2 separate regions of the Homo sapiens genome follow, and region 2 is linked to region 1. The links are contacts of gene promoters, found by promoter capture Hi-C in blood cells and fetal thymus (Javierre and others, 2016). All regions are on one chromosome and are shown on one strand. Each heading gives the region's core, a stretch centred on a gene start or on the middle of the fragment in contact. The rest is flanking DNA. Distances are from core to core; before and after follow the strand shown. Region 1 has its middle 2.2 kb from the start of DAD1. Region 2 holds the start of SUPT16H (SPT16 homolog, facilitates chromatin remodeling subunit).

Region 1 (2,700 bases), core at 111-2,610:
GGGATGTCAGCGTCGAAAGGCCCGAAAGAGCATGCCTGGTTCAACCCTACTCTCTCCAACTCATTTTGCAGAAGAAACTGAAATGGTTTCAGGTTTTGTATTTTAACAAGTGGGATTATTTTGAGGGTTTTAACTGTTTTTTTTTTTTTTTTTGAGACGGAGCCTTGCTCTGTCGGCCAGGCTGGAGTGCAGTGTCGCGATCTCGGCCCACTGCAACCTCCGCCTCCCTAGTAGCTGGGACTACAGGCACGCGCCACCACGCCCGGCTAATTTTTGTATTTTCAGTAGAGACGGAGTTTCACCATTGTTAGCCAGGCTGGTCCCGAACTCCTGACCTTGTGATCCGCCAGCCTCGGCCTCCCAAAGTGCTGGGATTACAGGCATGAGCCACTGCACCCGGCCTGTTTTAACTTTTTTTAAGAAATTAAGTTCTGGCTTTCGTTGCCCTTTTAATTTCACGTGAATCCGACCTTCTAGACCCAGTTCATCTCACCTTTTAGCTGTAAGTTTTTCCACACATGACCAGGTACTTTATTTTCAGCTTCTTAATATTTTGAACTGTACGTGAGCAAAATTCCTAAAACAGCAGGTGAACAACAGCGTTCCTGCCTTTTCACTTTTTTTTTTTTTTTTTTTTGAGATGAAGTTTTGCTCTTGTCACCCAGGCTGGAGTGCAGTGAATGGTGCGATCTCGGCTCACTGCAACCTCCACCTCCTGGGTTCAAGCCATTCTCCTGCCTCAGCCTCCCGAGTAGCTGGGATTAGAGGCACCTGCCACCACGCCCGGCTAATTTTTGTATTTTTAGTAGAAACGGGGTTTCGCCATGTTGGCCAAGCTGATCTTGAACTCCTGACCTCAGGTGATCTGCCTGCTTCAGCCTCCCAAAGTGCTGGGATTATAGGAGTGAGCCACTGCGCCGGCCCCTTTTCACTTTTTATTTGCCTTTAGACTGGAAACTCTACACGCATTAACTAACGGATGTATTATCAGTGGTGATCAAAGCCTTACTTAAGTTCTAGAAAGAAGAGAAATAACCTAAGAAACCTTTAGAGTCTATTTGAATAGATAGATTTATATTCATACCCGTGGAGATTTGTGCAGCTATATGAACATAAGTTCAGCCTAAACCTATGTTGCTGAGAAAGAAAAAAAAAGAGTGGATAACAAGCTGGTTCTTATTTCAATATAATATGGCAGGAAGCATCAATTTCTCTGACAAGTTGAACCTTTCTCTCTGCCTCATCAACAAGTAGGAGGGTAGCTTCCTCACGAATATTCAACTTCAAACTTTACAGGCTAGGCTGATGCTTTTTAATCATTCAGGTGTGGATTCTTCAGGGAGTTTCTGTTCCATCAGCCAGGCTCCTTCCAGTGTTTTCTCCCTTATGTTTTGTCTGCCTTTGATCCATGTCAACTATCATCATTAAGATCTCCCCAGGAACTCTCACAGGAGAGAAGAAGAGATGAAAAACACCAAATGGACTTATTGAATGCATTTGTTTCTGAGACCTGCTAGTCACACCAATATACTACACTAGGGCTTTTCTGAACTACTTAAAACAGCAAGAAAAGGCCTACTTCTCTATTCGGTTTATGATTCTATAATCATTGAAACATTTTTAACTGATCTGTCAATAGGAAATTGCTAACACTAGTGTTGATTTCAATTAGTTTAAATCAGAATATTAATATAGTTTAAAATTCTTGTCCAGAGTAGTGGATAAGAGTGCAAGCTCTAGAATCAGACAGTCCTAGGTTTGAACCTTGATTCTGCTGTTTACTAGTTGTCTAATCTGGAACAAGTTACTCAGTCTGACAGTCTCATTTTCCTTTTCTATAAAACAGAAATAACAATACCTGGCTCATTGAAATTATGTGAGGATTAAATGAGATAATGTTAAGCATTAAGCTGTTAGCATAGTGTTTGGCAGACAGTAAATGTTCAGTAAATGTTTGCTCTTATTAACTATCATTAATCCTAGTAATTAACCATGTCTGCTTCTCCTAGTTCTCTGAATGATTAAAAGTTAGCCAAACTACAGCGCCCCCAATAATTTGGGTATGCAAAAGATAGCACTGGAGGGACTGCAACTCAAATGGCTCTTAAAGGGCAGATCTAATTTATAAGCTGAAACTGAAGTCAGAGTATACTTTAGGGGTTTCATTACATAAAACAATGGAAGAGTGGAGGAGCAAGAGGGTTCCCTTAAGGGCAAAGTCCATGATTTTACATCATACATCCTCTACAAAAAGAAATCACATTATTTACCAAAAGAAACACAAATCCTCCAAAGTTTGAGTAGACAATAACTCTTCTAAAGGAAATCTCCGCATGGAAAAGAATGTCTTTTCCATTTCCTTTCCCTTGCATTGTCACGTTTGCCTTAAGATTCCCCTCTTTGCTTCTGTTAACTGCTATTGCATATATAATCTCTACCTTCTAAACTTTGGCCCCAGTGTGACCAAAACCCCCTCTCCTTGTTTCCTAATAGAACAGATAAAATAGGTTATTATTTTCAGAAATAAAAATTTAAGGAGAATCAAGTTGCAAACAGCACAAAGTCAAATTTTTAAAGTATCAAGTTTCTGATCAAGTCCTAGTAAAGCAGTAAATATCTTCAGTGAACCCATATCCCTTCATCCTTTCAGTTTCTGATGAAGTGGAACAACTTTTCAGCTCCTTTGTCTGGTTTCCCTCC
Region 2 (2,700 bases), core at 193-2,692, 1.2 Mb before region 1:
GTACAAGAGAGGGCTTCGGATTTTTAGTACTTACTGATCATTAGAAAGTATCAAGGTTTTAAAATGTTTTTCTAACATCGATTATGTTTGAATAATATGACACTGAGAGAAGCTGCAAAAAATCATTTGGTAGAAATTAATCAAAAAATTAAAAAAAATAAAATGTTCAGTATTCATCTAGCATTTAGTTCTTATTTTTCCTTTTCATAAAATGCAAGAGAATCAATTTTATTTTCAATTATCTAATGTATTTAGCCCCAAAAGATGAAACATGCACAGACAGCTTTAATATGAATGGCAAGGAAACGACCAATTTTAATGGCTTGGTTTTAGTAGATGACCAGTTTGAAAGATAATTTACAATGCTGAAATGAGAGCTGATCATTTTTCTCAAAACGTTTTTCAGGTTAAAAAAAAATCTTTATTAGCTGTATCTTCCCTTGATGACAGGGTTCAGGGGCAAGACTTAAGCTAGCCAACTCAGACTGCATCACAGAATGCAACCAAATGTTTGCTCAATTAGTAAGTTAACATCATAAAAATAAGTTTTAACTGTGGACGTTTTTAGAGCAGCAAAACTGCCGAATCTTTAAAAAACTGGGAACTGCCACAGCTCTTTTAATGAACACGTGCCCCGGATACGCTACCAAGGAACTAATAAGGTTTTAGGCATCGTTTTGTTTTGTTTTGTTATTACTAATGCCTGCAGGCTTTCAGCGTTAGGTCCCTCTCTGTAACCCACAGCAGGGCCTAGAACATGAGGCGGTTGCGCGTGAGCAGTATTTCTTTTTTTAACTCCAGCAAAAGCCCCGCAAACGATAAACGCTAAAAGCCCGATTGACATCCTCCTTGCCCTTCCATCTCTCCTTTACGAAGACGGTTATAATCCTGGCGGGACCAGGGGTGGAATATTGTGGTTCTGGAGGGACAGAGCGAGTGCGTGAGAACACGGCAGGGGAGGGCAGCAAGACGTGACCACGGAGTAGGAGGGAAGGATGTTGCCTCTTCTAGGGCGGGAAGAGACTGCGAGAGGTGCTGCTATGCATGACCAAGGCTGGCACGCGGGGAAGATGGTGATGGCCGCAGGACAGGGTGAATGCGGGGGATTCCCTGTTAAGGGGCAGCGTTCGTGGCCGCCTCCGGTGAATGATTCGGGAGCAACGAAAAGGGTGAGGCACAGAACCCGGGAATTCCTGACCGAAAGAGAAAAAAGGGCGCCGAGAAACAGGGTTATTATGGGATGGCTAAGGGGGCTCCCTAGGAAAAATTACAGGATCTTCCTCACCCGCCAATTGCTGTACAGTCTCTTCACTCGCCGATAATAAGCGTCTTTGTCCAGAGTCACAGCCATAGCCCCGGACGCCGCTTCTCCTCGGGTTCCGAGAATCACGCGAGGTCCCGGCTCAGCCACCCGCTCTCGGCCCAGGAATCCCGCACTCTCCCAATGACCCGGAAGTATCGACCTCAAAGATGCCCTTTCCGCTTCCGGGTCCCAACAGCGTTAGGTTTTTTTTTTGTTTGTTTGTTTGTTTTGTTTTTTTCCAACCCTCTTTCGGATGGACGGGGGAAAGAGAGAAAGAAAAACGAGGGAAAATCAACAAAATGTGCGATGCAAAGAGTCGATTTTCGCGGGGTTTGTCAACTTCGCCACTGCCGCACGCGAATCGACGTCGTCACGTGACGGTCTGCCTCCGCCCTTATTAACTCTCAGCCCAGCGGCGGTTTCCAGGACCTCAGACTTTTTGCCGAGGCGGCAGTCCCTAGACGAAGCGAAGGAGGCGGCGCCTGCCCCGCCCACAAGAGCTGCCGCGCGCGGGTGTTATAGCTCCACCCCATCTGCAAAGGAAGGGGGAGCGGAAAGAGCGGGATCTAGCGTGGGATAAAAGTGGGACTACTACAGTGTAACTGGGCATGCGCCCCTCCTAGAAATGATGGGAATGCAAAAGCCCTTGACTGCTCCAGGACTCGAGGGATCCTCGGTGCCAGGATGCTGGGTCAAGCGCTCCGCCGGGACAGAGGACTCATACCAGGGAAATGGAGCCCAGCCTCGTGATAAACTACGACCCAAGCTGGGGGAGGAACCTAGTTTTCGAAAGGAAAATAATATGCGCAAGCTTTAACTGAGCAGTGGGATGGTGTAAGTCAGAGGAAACAGATGACTTGAGGGGCTCTACAAACTTTTAGTTCCTTCCCACAACCCCACCCCCTGAGCCCAAGTCGCGGCAGCATCCTTCCAGTCGGCCAGTCCCCTTGCTGCAGTTCATGAAAACTGGCACTATTCTATGGCTTCCCCCAAATAACCGTTACTTCAGTTAATTAGAAACAAAACATAAATGGTTCCTGATGACATTCTTGCTCCCTGTCTCTTCTAAAAACTTGGAGTTTGAATCCAGAAGTTTGCCTACCTACCATTTACCTTAAATAATTCCCTTGCCTTTAGCCAGCTGGACAGTCTACATTTGTATATACCCTTTAGAGGAGTACAGATGACTTGTCTGCTGTAAGGCAATTTAGTATAAACAGTATTGAACTTAAGGAAAGTGGTGCTGAAATTACCCACCATTAACAACTCAAAATCAATACACTGGGTTTGAGCAAACATAGAACAAAGGAAGAGTGGAAAAGGATTAACTTAAATTTATTAATGCCAAGGGGAAAGAAGGTAACAGTTCCTGACCCTCCAGCTGTATCCACAGTTCG

The links. Contacts are between HindIII fragments. The CHiCAGO score rates a contact against its expected background, and 5 or more counts as called.
Region 2: the fragment with the promoter of SUPT16H here is called in contact with a fragment that was not itself captured in region 1 in 1 of 17 cell types (total CD8 T cells); the score reaches 6.8 in total CD8 T cells.

The regions. Positions count from the first base shown.
Region 1 is chr14:22,590,056-22,592,755 of GRCh38, forward strand. No RefSeq gene overlaps it. Among named protein-coding and RNA genes, the nearest start is that of DAD1, 2.2 kb to the left of the region's middle. The HindIII fragment of the contact is 3,829 bases long and covers 1-2,700 here.
Region 2 is chr14:21,382,577-21,385,276 of GRCh38, forward strand. SUPT16H (SPT16 homolog, facilitates chromatin remodeling subunit) reads right to left here and starts at 1,443. Exons shown (of 26, transcript NM_007192.4): 1 at 1,286-1,443. The coding sequence starts at 1,351. CHD8 (chromodomain helicase DNA binding protein 8) reads right to left here. Exons shown (of 38, transcript NM_001170629.2): 38 at 2,623-2,700. LOC107984643 (a long non-coding RNA gene) reads left to right here and starts at 1,697. Exons shown (of 2, transcript XR_001750627.2): 1 at 1,697-2,137. The HindIII fragment of the contact is 3,293 bases long and covers 1-2,112 here.